Regions from separate parts of the Homo sapiens genome. Here region 2 is linked to region 1. Evidence: promoter capture Hi-C in human tissues and cell types (Jung and others, 2019). All regions are on one chromosome and are shown on one strand. The core of a region is centred on a gene start or on the middle of the fragment in contact, and the rest is flanking DNA. Distances in the headings are between cores, read along the strand shown. Region 1 overlaps DDX23 (DEAD-box helicase 23). Region 2 holds the start of KANSL2 (KAT8 regulatory NSL complex subunit 2).

Region 1 (5,158 bases), core at 406-2,905:
GCCTCAGCCTCCCAAGTAGCTGGGAATACAGGCATGCGCCACCATGCCTGGCTAATTTTTGTATTTTTAGTAGAGACAGGGTTTCTCCATGTTGGCCAGGCTGGTCTCGAACTCTTGACCTTAGGTGATCCGGCCACCTCGGCCTCTCAAAGTGCTGGGATTACAGGCGTGAGCCATTGTGCCTGGCCTGTATACAGAGTTCTTATCAGGCCCTGAAAGTATAGGTTAGAATTCAAGGCAGAGGACAGAATGCTCCTAACAGAAACTCAGTGGGGTTGTTTGAATTATCTTGTAGATTAAGCTTAGAGCAGGTATGGGGAAAGGATTGTTGGGATTGATAGGAATGAAAAATGATGAGGGAATATAGATAGCAGTATCTTCTTGGCTTGTGGTGGTGGCCATGTAGGCTAAATTCATTGTATATTAAAGAGTTAAGGAGGGCCAGGCGCTGTGGCTCACACCTGTAATCCTAGCACTTTGGGTGGCCGAGGTGGATGTATCACCTGAGGTCAAGAGTTCGAGACCAGCCTGGCCAACATGATGAAACCTCGTCTCTACTAAAAATATAAAAATTAGCCAGTGGTGGCAGTACTCGCCTGTAGTCCCAGCTACTCAGGAGGCTGAGGCAGGAAAATTTCTTGAACCCAGGAGGCGGAGGTTGCAGTGAGCTGAGATCACACCATTGCACTCCAGCCTGGGCGACAGAGTGAGACTGTGTCTCAAAAAAAAAAAAAAAAAAAATTTTTCTCTAAACAACCACACCTGGCTAATTTTTGTGTTTTTACTAGAGACAGGGTTTTGCCATGTTGGCCAGGCTGGTCTTGAACTCCTGACCTCAGGTAACCCACCTGTCTTAGCCTCCCAAAGTGCTGGGATTATAGGCATGAGACACCGCGCCTGGCCTAGGGGAAATATTTTTGACATCAGTAGTAAAGTCCCACTTCCCAAAAGAGATTAGTCTCAAAAGGAGATTTGGGTAGAAAGGGGCCAAGACAGGGCCATAATTAGGTTTCAGAGCTGGCAGAATGACCATGCCTGCTAAGAGAGTTTCAAGACATGATAGATGACCATGGGCCAGTCTTGTTGAGTCATGGGGAAACTTCCATTCTCTTTTCGGGGCTCAACTTGAACCTCATCCAGGCACTGAAGTAAGAGTGATGTGGACCTTGTTCCTTTTCCTCAAAGCTTATCTCCTGGTCGAGGAAAAGACTTTAAATCTCGGAAGGACAGAGACTCTAAGAAGGATGAAGAGGATGAACATGGTGATAAGAAGCCTAAGGTAAAGGAGAGGAAGGATATTTTTCATCTTCAACTCGTGCGTTGCTTTGTTGATCTTTAAAGGGAGAGAGCCTTTATAGACTAAAGTTCTGTTTTATCTTCAGGCCCAGCCATTATCCCTGGAGGAGCTTCTGGCCAAGAAAAAGGCTGAGGAAGAAGCTGAGGCTAAGGTAAGTACTTGAGGGTCTTCATTCATCGGCTCAGGCTGCCATAACACAATACCACAGACTGGGTGACTTCAACGACAGAAGTTAATTTTCTCACAGTTCTGGAGGCTGGAAGTCTGAGAGCGGAGTGTCAGCAGGGTTATTTCTTCTGAGGTCTCTCTCCTTGGCTTATAAGGCTGTCTTCTTCCTCAGCTCTTCACATGGTCCTCCCTCTGTACACATGTACCCCTTGTGTTGGATTAGGGCTCACCCTAAAAGGCCCTTTTTTTTTTTTTTTTTTTTTTTTTTGAGACAGAGTCTCACTCTGTCGCCCAGGATGGAGTACAGTGGCATGATATCGGCTCACTTCAACCTCCACCTCCCAGGCTGAAGCAATCCTCCCACCTCAGCCTCCCAAGTATCTGGGACTACAGGTGCGTGCCACAACGTCCAGCTAATTTTTGTATTTTTTGTAGAGTCCAGATTTCACCACGTTGTCCAGGCTGGTCTCGAACCCCTGGGCTCAAGTGATCTGCCCTCCTTGGCCTCACAAAGTGCTGGGATTACAGGCGTGAGCCACTGTGCCCAGCCTAATGGGCTCATTTTAACTTAATCACCTCTTTACATGTCCTGTCTCCACATATAGTCAAATTCTGAGGTACTAGGAGTTAGGGCTTCCACATAGGAATTTTGAGCTGGGTACAGTGGCTCACACCTGTAATCCCAATACTTTGGAAGGCCAAGATGGGAGGATCACTTGAGCCAGGGATTTTTAGACCAGCCTAGGCAACATGGTGAAAACCCATCTCTATAAAATTTTAAAAATTAGCCATCTGTGGTAGCATGCGCCTGTAGTCCCAGCTACTCAGGAGGCTGAGGCAAGGATATTGCTTGAGCCCAGGAGGTTGAAGCTGCAGTGAGCCATGATGACACCACTGTACTGCAGCTTGGGCAACAGAGCGAGAGTCTGTCTCAAAAAATATATATAACACATGCATTGTTTGTTTGTTTGTTTGAGATGGAGTCTCGCCCCGTTGCCCAGGCTGGAGTGCAGTGGCATGATCTCGGCTCACTGCAACCTCTGCCTCCCAGGTTCAAGCAATTCTCCTGCCTCAGCCTCCTGAGTAGCTGGGATTACAGGCACGTGCCACCATGCCTGGCTAATTTTTTGTATTTTTTTAGTAGAGATAGGGTTTCACTGTGCTGGCCAGGCTTGTCTTGAACTCCTGACCTCGTGATCCGCCCATCTCGGCCTCCCAAAGTGCTAGGATTACAGGCACAAGCCACCGCACTCGGCCACATTTTTTTTTTTTTTTTAAAGGTAAGGTCTTGCTCGTTTGCCCAGGCTAAAGTACAGTGGTGCAATCACAGCTCACTGTAACCTCAAACTCCTGGGCTCATATGATTTTCCTGCCTCAGCCTCCTGAGTAGCTGGGACTATATGCACATGCCATCATGTCTGGCTGAGTTTTTTTATTTTTGTAGAAACAAGGTCTGCTATGTTGCCCAGGCTGGTCTTGAACTCATGGCCTCAAGCGGTCCTCCCATCTAGGTCTCATAAAACACTGGGATTACAGGCATGTGCCACCACGTCCAGCCTGAAAAAACATATGAATTCTGTAGGGGACATAGTTCAGTCCATAACCGAGTCCAAGGCCTATTTGTGTTTTCCTCAACAGGCTTAATGCCTGAGCAAATACTTTTGGGTTCCCTGCCATCTCCCCATCAGTGATGTGATTGTACCCTGCTCCCAGATCCTTTGTTGACAGTTCCAATCTCTTTTGTAGCCCAAGTTCCTCTCTAAAGCAGAACGAGAGGCTGAAGCTCTAAAGCGACGGCAGCAGGAGGTGGAAGAGCGGCAGAGGATGCTTGAAGAAGAGAGGAAGAAAAGGAAACAGTTCCAAGACTTGGGCAGGAAGATGTTGGGTTTGTTATTCTACCCTGTGTAGCCCCTAGATGGAAGAGGAAAGAGTGGGATGAGATACAGTGTCTCTTAGGAGAGATAGAAACCTGTTCACTCTGGAGTTTGGAAAGGGGAAGGATGGTGGGAGTTTATGAGAAAACATTTTTCTGTTAGATCTCCATTTACCCCATATCATAAGTCTACCCCTTTTTTTCTTCATTTGGGGTTCCTCGTCTGGATTCCCTCCATTCCCTCTCCTCTTTTCTTCCATGAGCTCTTCTGCAGCTTTGCTTTCTTTGGTCTGCAGAAGATCCTCAGGAACGGGAACGTCGGGAACGCAGGGAGAGGATGGAACGGGAGACCAATGGAAATGAGGATGAGGAAGGGCGGCAGAAGATCCGGGAAGAGAAGGATAAGAGCAAGGAACTGCATGCCATTAAGGTGCAGGCCTTGGCTCCATCTTCACTTCTCTCCCACACAAAAATGAGGTTTAGTTATTTGGCCATTGTGATCTCTGCATGTGAGAATTGGGCCTCAAAGCTCATGTGCTTTGTGTTCTGTCCCTGGGTAGGAGCGTTACCTGGGTGGCATCAAAAAGCGGCGCCGAACGAGACATCTCAATGACCGGAAATTTGTTTTTGAGTGGGATGCATCTGAGGACACATCCATTGACTACAACCCCCTGTGAGTGGCTTCAGGCCTGAGTTCTAGGTCTTTTCCACTAGGCAGTCCTAGAGAGCTGATGACTACGGAGGTGGAGGAAGTAAGATAAGCTGGGATGGAAAATTGGTAGACTGGTAGTCAGCCAGCCCTCTGGTGGAAGAAAGACCCTGTCTGGGAAGAACTGTTTCATACTAGTAGTCTGCCCTTCCTTCCTACTGCCGTTAACAGCTCCTTCTTTTTTCTTTTCCTCTATCTCAATCCCAGGTACAAAGAACGGCACCAGGTGCAGTTGTTAGGGCGAGGCTTCATTGCAGGCATTGACCTCAAGCAGCAGAAGCGAGAGCAGTCACGTTTCTATGGAGACCTAATGGAGAAGAGGCGAACCCTGGAAGAAAAGGAGCAGGAGGAGTGAGTGATCAAGGCTAGGGTGGCTGGACAGAGCCCAGAGGCTCTACAGAAAGGAGTTGGAGGGCACTGATTCTACTTACTCCTCACACCCTGCTCCAGGGCAAGACTCCGCAAACTTCGTAAGAAGGAAGCCAAGCAGCGCTGGGATGATCGTCATTGGTCTCAGAAAAAGTTAGATGAGATGACGGACAGGGACTGGCGGATCTTCCGTGAGGACTACAGCATCACCACCAAAGGTGGCAAGATCCCCAATCCCATCCGATCCTGGAAAGACTCTTCTCTGCCCCCACACATCTTGGAGGTCATTGATAAGTGTGGCTACAAGGTAAGGAGGGATAGATTGGCCCAAGAGATCTGACATGTTCCTACACTAGTTTGGGAATAGAGAACTTTGTTCCTTGACTATTTGGAGCCATCGCTGCTAGTGGGCACCAATGTGACCTTTTCTGTCACTTTCTGGTAGAAGTGTTGGCTTTTAGTGATTAGGTTTCTTCTTGGGGTCCCTATTTCTGTGAACTGTACTTGGCATCCTTCCATTGTGCTAGCAGATGTGCTTACTACTATCAGTGGTTGCCCAGGTGGTATAACTCTCCCTGTACCTATTACTCTTTCTTGGGGTCACTGCAGGAACCAACACCTATACAGCGTCAGGCAATTCCCATTGGGCTACAGAATCGTGACATCATTGGTGTGGCTGAGACTGGCAGTGGCAAGACAGCAGCCTTCCTCATCCCTCTGCTGGTCTGGATCACCACACTTC
Region 2 (5,106 bases), core at 857-3,356, 160 kb after region 1:
GGGCGACAGAGCAAGACTCCCGCTAAAAAAAAAAAAAAAAAAAAGAAGTGGTTCTAAATAGTAATGTTTTGTCTGTCTTGGACTTACAAGAAGGATTCTTTTTTCAACTAAGACCTTCAGTAAATTCATTGAAAGAAAGTCTTTTGTTTCTTCCCCATCTATTCCTGTGTCTCTTCATATTGTTCACTACAGTAGTTTTAATGTTGCTTTTTGATATTACTACATTTGGTTGCAGATTCGGATTCCCAAATTTTCTGTGACATGACTGCCTCTGGCTGTTTTTTAATTATAGGGTGTTTATAACAAAACATCTTTTTTCGTACTCCTGAGGGTTGGTCTGTTTGCTTATGTATATAAATCATTGTTATTAATATTATGTTTGTATTGCATCCATAATCCAAAGCTATCCTAGAATGTTCACTCCAAGAGAGCAGGGTTATCTTCCTTGTTCTCTCCTGGCACTTAGGTGCTCAATAAATATTCGTTGAATGAATGAATTTCAGGCCTTCTTCTAGGGCTGCTCTAGTCTCTGGAAACAGCACAACCCCCAAGGTTTTTTTTTTTTTTTAATAATTTATCGGTCCTATAGTGTATTTATTTATTTATTTATTTATTTATTTATTTATTTATTTGAGATGAGGTGTCTCCATATTGCCCAGGCTGGGATCGAACTCCTGAGCTCAGGTGATCTTCCCACCTCAGCTTTTCAAAGTGCTGGGATTACAGTGGTGAACCATGACGCCCAGCCTTAGTGTTTTTCTTGAGGGCTGTGGAATCTTTATGTTCACTTCCACTGGGACTCATGCTCACTTGCTCGTTAGGCATGGATAAAACATCTTTCTTAAACTGACAGTGAGGAGATAAGAGATGCTGGAAAGCAAAAAATGTCTAGAAGGGTTATGGGAAGAAAGCTAGGAATCATTTCTACAAGTGGTGGAGATGACAGAAAGATGCTTTTAAACTAAAAATCCTTAAAGGATGGTATGATTGGTATTGTGTCTGTCATTTTTATGATACCTGCATTATTTAGCATGGAATTTTAAAGACAGGGCACACAGTTATGAGAAGCAGCCCTAAACTAGAACAAATATTTCCTTATTCTCAGTCCAATGCTCTTTACTATATAAGAGGCAATAAGGGATAAAGAATGCGGGCTGGGTTCAAATTCGTCTTCCTTTCCCATTTAATAGCTATGGTCCCATTCTGTTCCTCAGTCCTCTTATCTGTAAAATGGACATAATACTAACCTGTACCTCTTAGGGTTGCTTTGAAAAATTCAATGACTTTATACATGTAATTCCCAGAATCAGTAAACACCCAAAAAATGTTTCTCAGTGTTCTCTATACCAAATGTTCAGTACATGTATTGAACTGTTCACAAAAGAAAGCTAAAGACTTTTTATGTGTAAACAGTGATCCTCCAGCCTCTGTCTGATTTATTTTTTATTTATATATTTTTTTGAGACGGAGTTTCGCTCTTGTTGCCCAGGCTGGAGTGCAATGGCGCGATATCGGCTCACCGCAATCTCCGCCTCCCAGGTTCAAGAGATTCTCCTGTCTCAGCCTCCCGAGTAGCTGGAATTACAGGCGTGCACCACCACGCCCGGCTAATTTTGTATTTTTAGTAGAGACGGCGTTTCTCCATGTTGCTCAGGCTGGACTCGAGCTCCCGACCTCAGGTGATCTGCCAGCCTCAGCCTCCCAAAGTGTTGGGATTACAGGCGTGAGCCACCGCGCCCGGCCTGTCTGTCTGATTTTATACTAGCTGTGTACAGTGGTGAGGGAACAGCAGCCTAGGACCACAGACTGAGGGTCCAAAAGTAGCCGGAAAACGAGCCACGCTGCAAGGTGGAAAAATATTAGCTGGCAACCCGCCCCGCAGCCCGCTCTCCGCCCCCTTCCCCGGCTCACTCTCCTCCGGGCGGAGTTGCTGACAGACAGTCTGTCTTAGCCACCCCAACCTCGCATTTTCTCAGCGCTCCGCCCTCCCAGACACGATAGGTAGTTGGTCTCGGCCAATGGCGACATCCTGTCATACGAGCGGTAGCCAATGAGTAGCCAGGAGTCCGGAAAGGGGCGAGGCCGATCTGAGAGCCGCTGGCGCCACTAGAGAAGGGCGAGCGGCGCGGCAGAGTGCGGCGCAGCGCAGCTCCTGAGGTAAGATGGCGGTGCTCTTTCCTCTAAGCTCTTGCGGTTGGGCTGCTATTTCGCTCTTTTTGTCAGCTCAGAGCTGCTACTCCGCCTCAAAGCAGTGTCAGAGTCAGTCTCCTTCCTGCAGGCTTCCAGGAGCCAGGATCTCCGGTGACTGGAGCCGTAGGACAAAATGGCGCTCGCATAGGCTTCCGAGGCCAGGCCCAGTCGTGCGCTCTGAGGCAGGCCGGGACAAAGGCGGCGTGCGGGGAGGCGGCGTGGCCGCCGCGTGGGGCTGGTGTTGTCGCTTCCCTTCGTGCTGCAGCTGTGCGAGTCCTGAAGATACATTCAGCGTGGTGTGGTTCGGGGTGGGGCCGGGCATGGAGGGACACGCTAAAGGGAGGCAAAGCCACAGATGCCTGTGGAGACTTGGGGAGGGCGGCGGGGACTTACGGAGCGTACCTTACGGGGACGACTTCTGCATGTCCTTTGGAAACTGTCCGCGCGATCTGTGTGGAGCAGGAATTTTCGGGAAGGGTAAGGGCTTTTTGGTCTTTCGTTTGACCCCGCAGGTTTTGGTTATGAACAGGATTCGGATTCACGTCTTGCCAACCAATCGGGGGAGGATCACTCCAGTGCCCAGGTCTCAGGAACCTCTGTCTTGTGCATTCACTCATCGTCCATGCTCTCACCCTCGTCTGGAGGGGCAGGAGTTTTGCATTAAGCATATCCTTGAAGACAAGAATGCACCCTTCAAGCAGTGTAGTTATATATCGACGAAGAATGGAAAAAGATGTCCCAATGCTGCCCCAAAGCCAGAGAAGAAAGATGGGTATATATGTATAGATATATATGTCGTTTTTCTTAAAGCGAGGGGGTATGTGATATGATGCGGGCTTCAGCATAGCTGCCGCGTTTGAGATTTTGTCCTTGTAAATTTGGGGTTATGGTTGTATCCTTGGAAAACTGAAAAAACGGTGAAGACTGGAAAGACCCTTGAGTTGGATTACTTAGTTCACCTCTTTGGTTCTTTTCCCTTATCTGTAAAATAAAGGCATATTCTAAATTAGTCTTTTTTTTTTTTTTTTTTTTTTTAAGAGAGATGGGGTCTTGCTATTTTGACCAGGCCGGTCTCAAACTCCTGGCCTCAAGGTATCCTCCCATCTCGGCCTCCCAGAGTGCTGGGATTACAGGCGTGAGCGACCGCGCCCGGCCCTAAAGTTAATTTTTTGGCGGGGGGGCGGCGCACAGATTCTTGCTTTATTCCCCAGGCTGGAGTGCAGTGGAGATCTCGGCTCACTGCAACCTCCTCCTTCCAGGTTCAAGCGATTCTCCTGCCTCCTAAGTAGTTGGGACTTAAGGCGTGCGCCACTATGCCCGGCTAATTTTTGTACTTTTTAGTAGAGACGGGGTTTCACCATGTTGGCCAGGCTTGTTTTGAACTGCTGACCTCAGGTGATCCATCCGCCTCGGCCTCCCAGAGTGTTGGGATTACAGGAGTGAGCCACCGCACCTGGCCCCTAAAATTCTTCTTAATGGAGGGGTGTGTGGCTCTATTTGGCTGTCCATGAATTTTGTTAAATAACATGCAAAGTTATATATGTGTGTATTCTTCTGTAAGAGGCTTCATAGTTTTCATCATGTATGCAAAGGTATCCATGCAAAAACATAACCTGACTAGATAATTTTTTACGTATCTTATAGTTTTAAAATTGTGTCCCTGGCTGGTCGCAGTGGCTCATGCCTGTAATCCCAGCACTTTGGGAGGCCACGGGAGGAGGATCACTTGAGGCCAGGAGTTGGAGACCAACCCAGGCAATACAGTGAGACCCCGTCTCTACAGAAGATTAAAAAACTCGCTGGGCATAGTGGCGTGGACATGTAGTCCCCACTACTTGGGAGGCTGAGGTGGGAGGATCACTTGAGCCTGGGAGTTCCAGACCAGACTTGGCAACATAGACTTCGTTTCTACAAAAAACTAAAAAAAATTTGCTGGGCACAGTGGTGCATGCCTATAGTTCTAGCTACTTTGAGGCTGAGGCAGGAGGATCGCTTGAACCAAGCAGTTTAAGGCTACAGTGAACTATGATTGCACCACTGCACTTTAGCCTGGGCAACAGAGCAAGACCCAATCCCTTGCCTCAGCCTCCCAAAGTGCTGGGATTACAAGGGTGAACCACTTCATCCGTCCTGTTATTTCCCTTTAATAAAGTCAAATGAGTTGACCTTGGGCCAGTTAAATTCCTCTGACTTGCATTTTTAGAAATGAATGTAATAGTCATTTTAATTCCCTAAAAATGATTTAAAGATTAGGGACTGTGAACATTATTGAACGCTTTCAAGAAGGAACTTATAAAATATTAATGTTTTGTCTCTTCAGGGTGTCCTTCTGTGCTGAACATGTCCGTAGGAATGCCCTGGCACTTCATGCTCAAATGAAGAAGACCAACCCAGGGCCTGTGGGTGAAACACTCCTGTGCCAGCTGAGCTCATATGCTAAGACAGAGCTGGGGTCTCAGACTCCAGAAAGTAGTCGCAGTGAAGCCAGCCGAATACTAGGTAAGGACCTTCTCTCCTGGAATGAAAAAGGAGGAAGAAAGTTAAGGGGGAACTATTTTGGGTTAGCACAATGCCTTGATCTATTTGGCAATATTGTTAATTCATCAGGAATTTGGTGAGAATGCTGGGATTGCTTTGTTGTTTACCAGTTCTTTTGAATTTGAAGTTGTGTTTGCCTAGGTTTACTTTCCTGAGTTGGTGACCATTTCTTTCATTGCTTTTTTAATGCTCAGCAGCTTTGTTAGGTAATTTCAGGAAACAGTAATTTTAAGTTGATTTTTCTGTTTGAGAGGGCATGGTTTACTCATTTATGTTGTAAGTAATCTTACTTGGGTTGTATTTTCTTAAAGCGTTTTTATTTGCCAGTACCTTTGTACTAAGTGTTTTTTTTTTTGTTTTGTTTTTAAAATTTCAAGG

The links. Contacts are between HindIII fragments. The study calls those that stand out against the background at their distance.
Region 2: a contact is called between the fragment with the promoter of KANSL2 here and a fragment that was not itself captured in region 1, in 1 of the 25 tissues and cell types used here (thymus).

Annotation. Positions count from the first base shown.
Region 1 is chr12:48,836,134-48,841,291 of GRCh38, reverse strand. It overlaps DDX23 (DEAD-box helicase 23), which reads left to right. Exons shown (of 17, transcript NM_004818.3): 4 at 1,186-1,279; 5 at 1,383-1,448; 6 at 3,212-3,350; 7 at 3,635-3,768; 8 at 3,899-4,011; 9 at 4,255-4,398; 10 at 4,498-4,723; 11 at 5,026-5,158. Among named protein-coding and RNA genes, the nearest start is that of DDX23, 13 kb to the left of the region's middle. The HindIII fragment of the contact is 3,147 bases long and covers 82-3,228 here.
Region 2 is chr12:48,679,238-48,684,343 of GRCh38, reverse strand. KANSL2 (KAT8 regulatory NSL complex subunit 2) reads left to right here and starts at 2,106. Exons shown (of 10, transcript NM_017822.4): 1 at 2,106-2,157; 2 at 2,703-2,962; 3 at 4,511-4,689. The coding sequence starts at 2,712. RefSeq lists silencers at 1,759-1,808, 1,849-2,058 and an enhancer at 2,139-2,408. The HindIII fragment of the contact is 9,488 bases long and covers 1-5,106 here.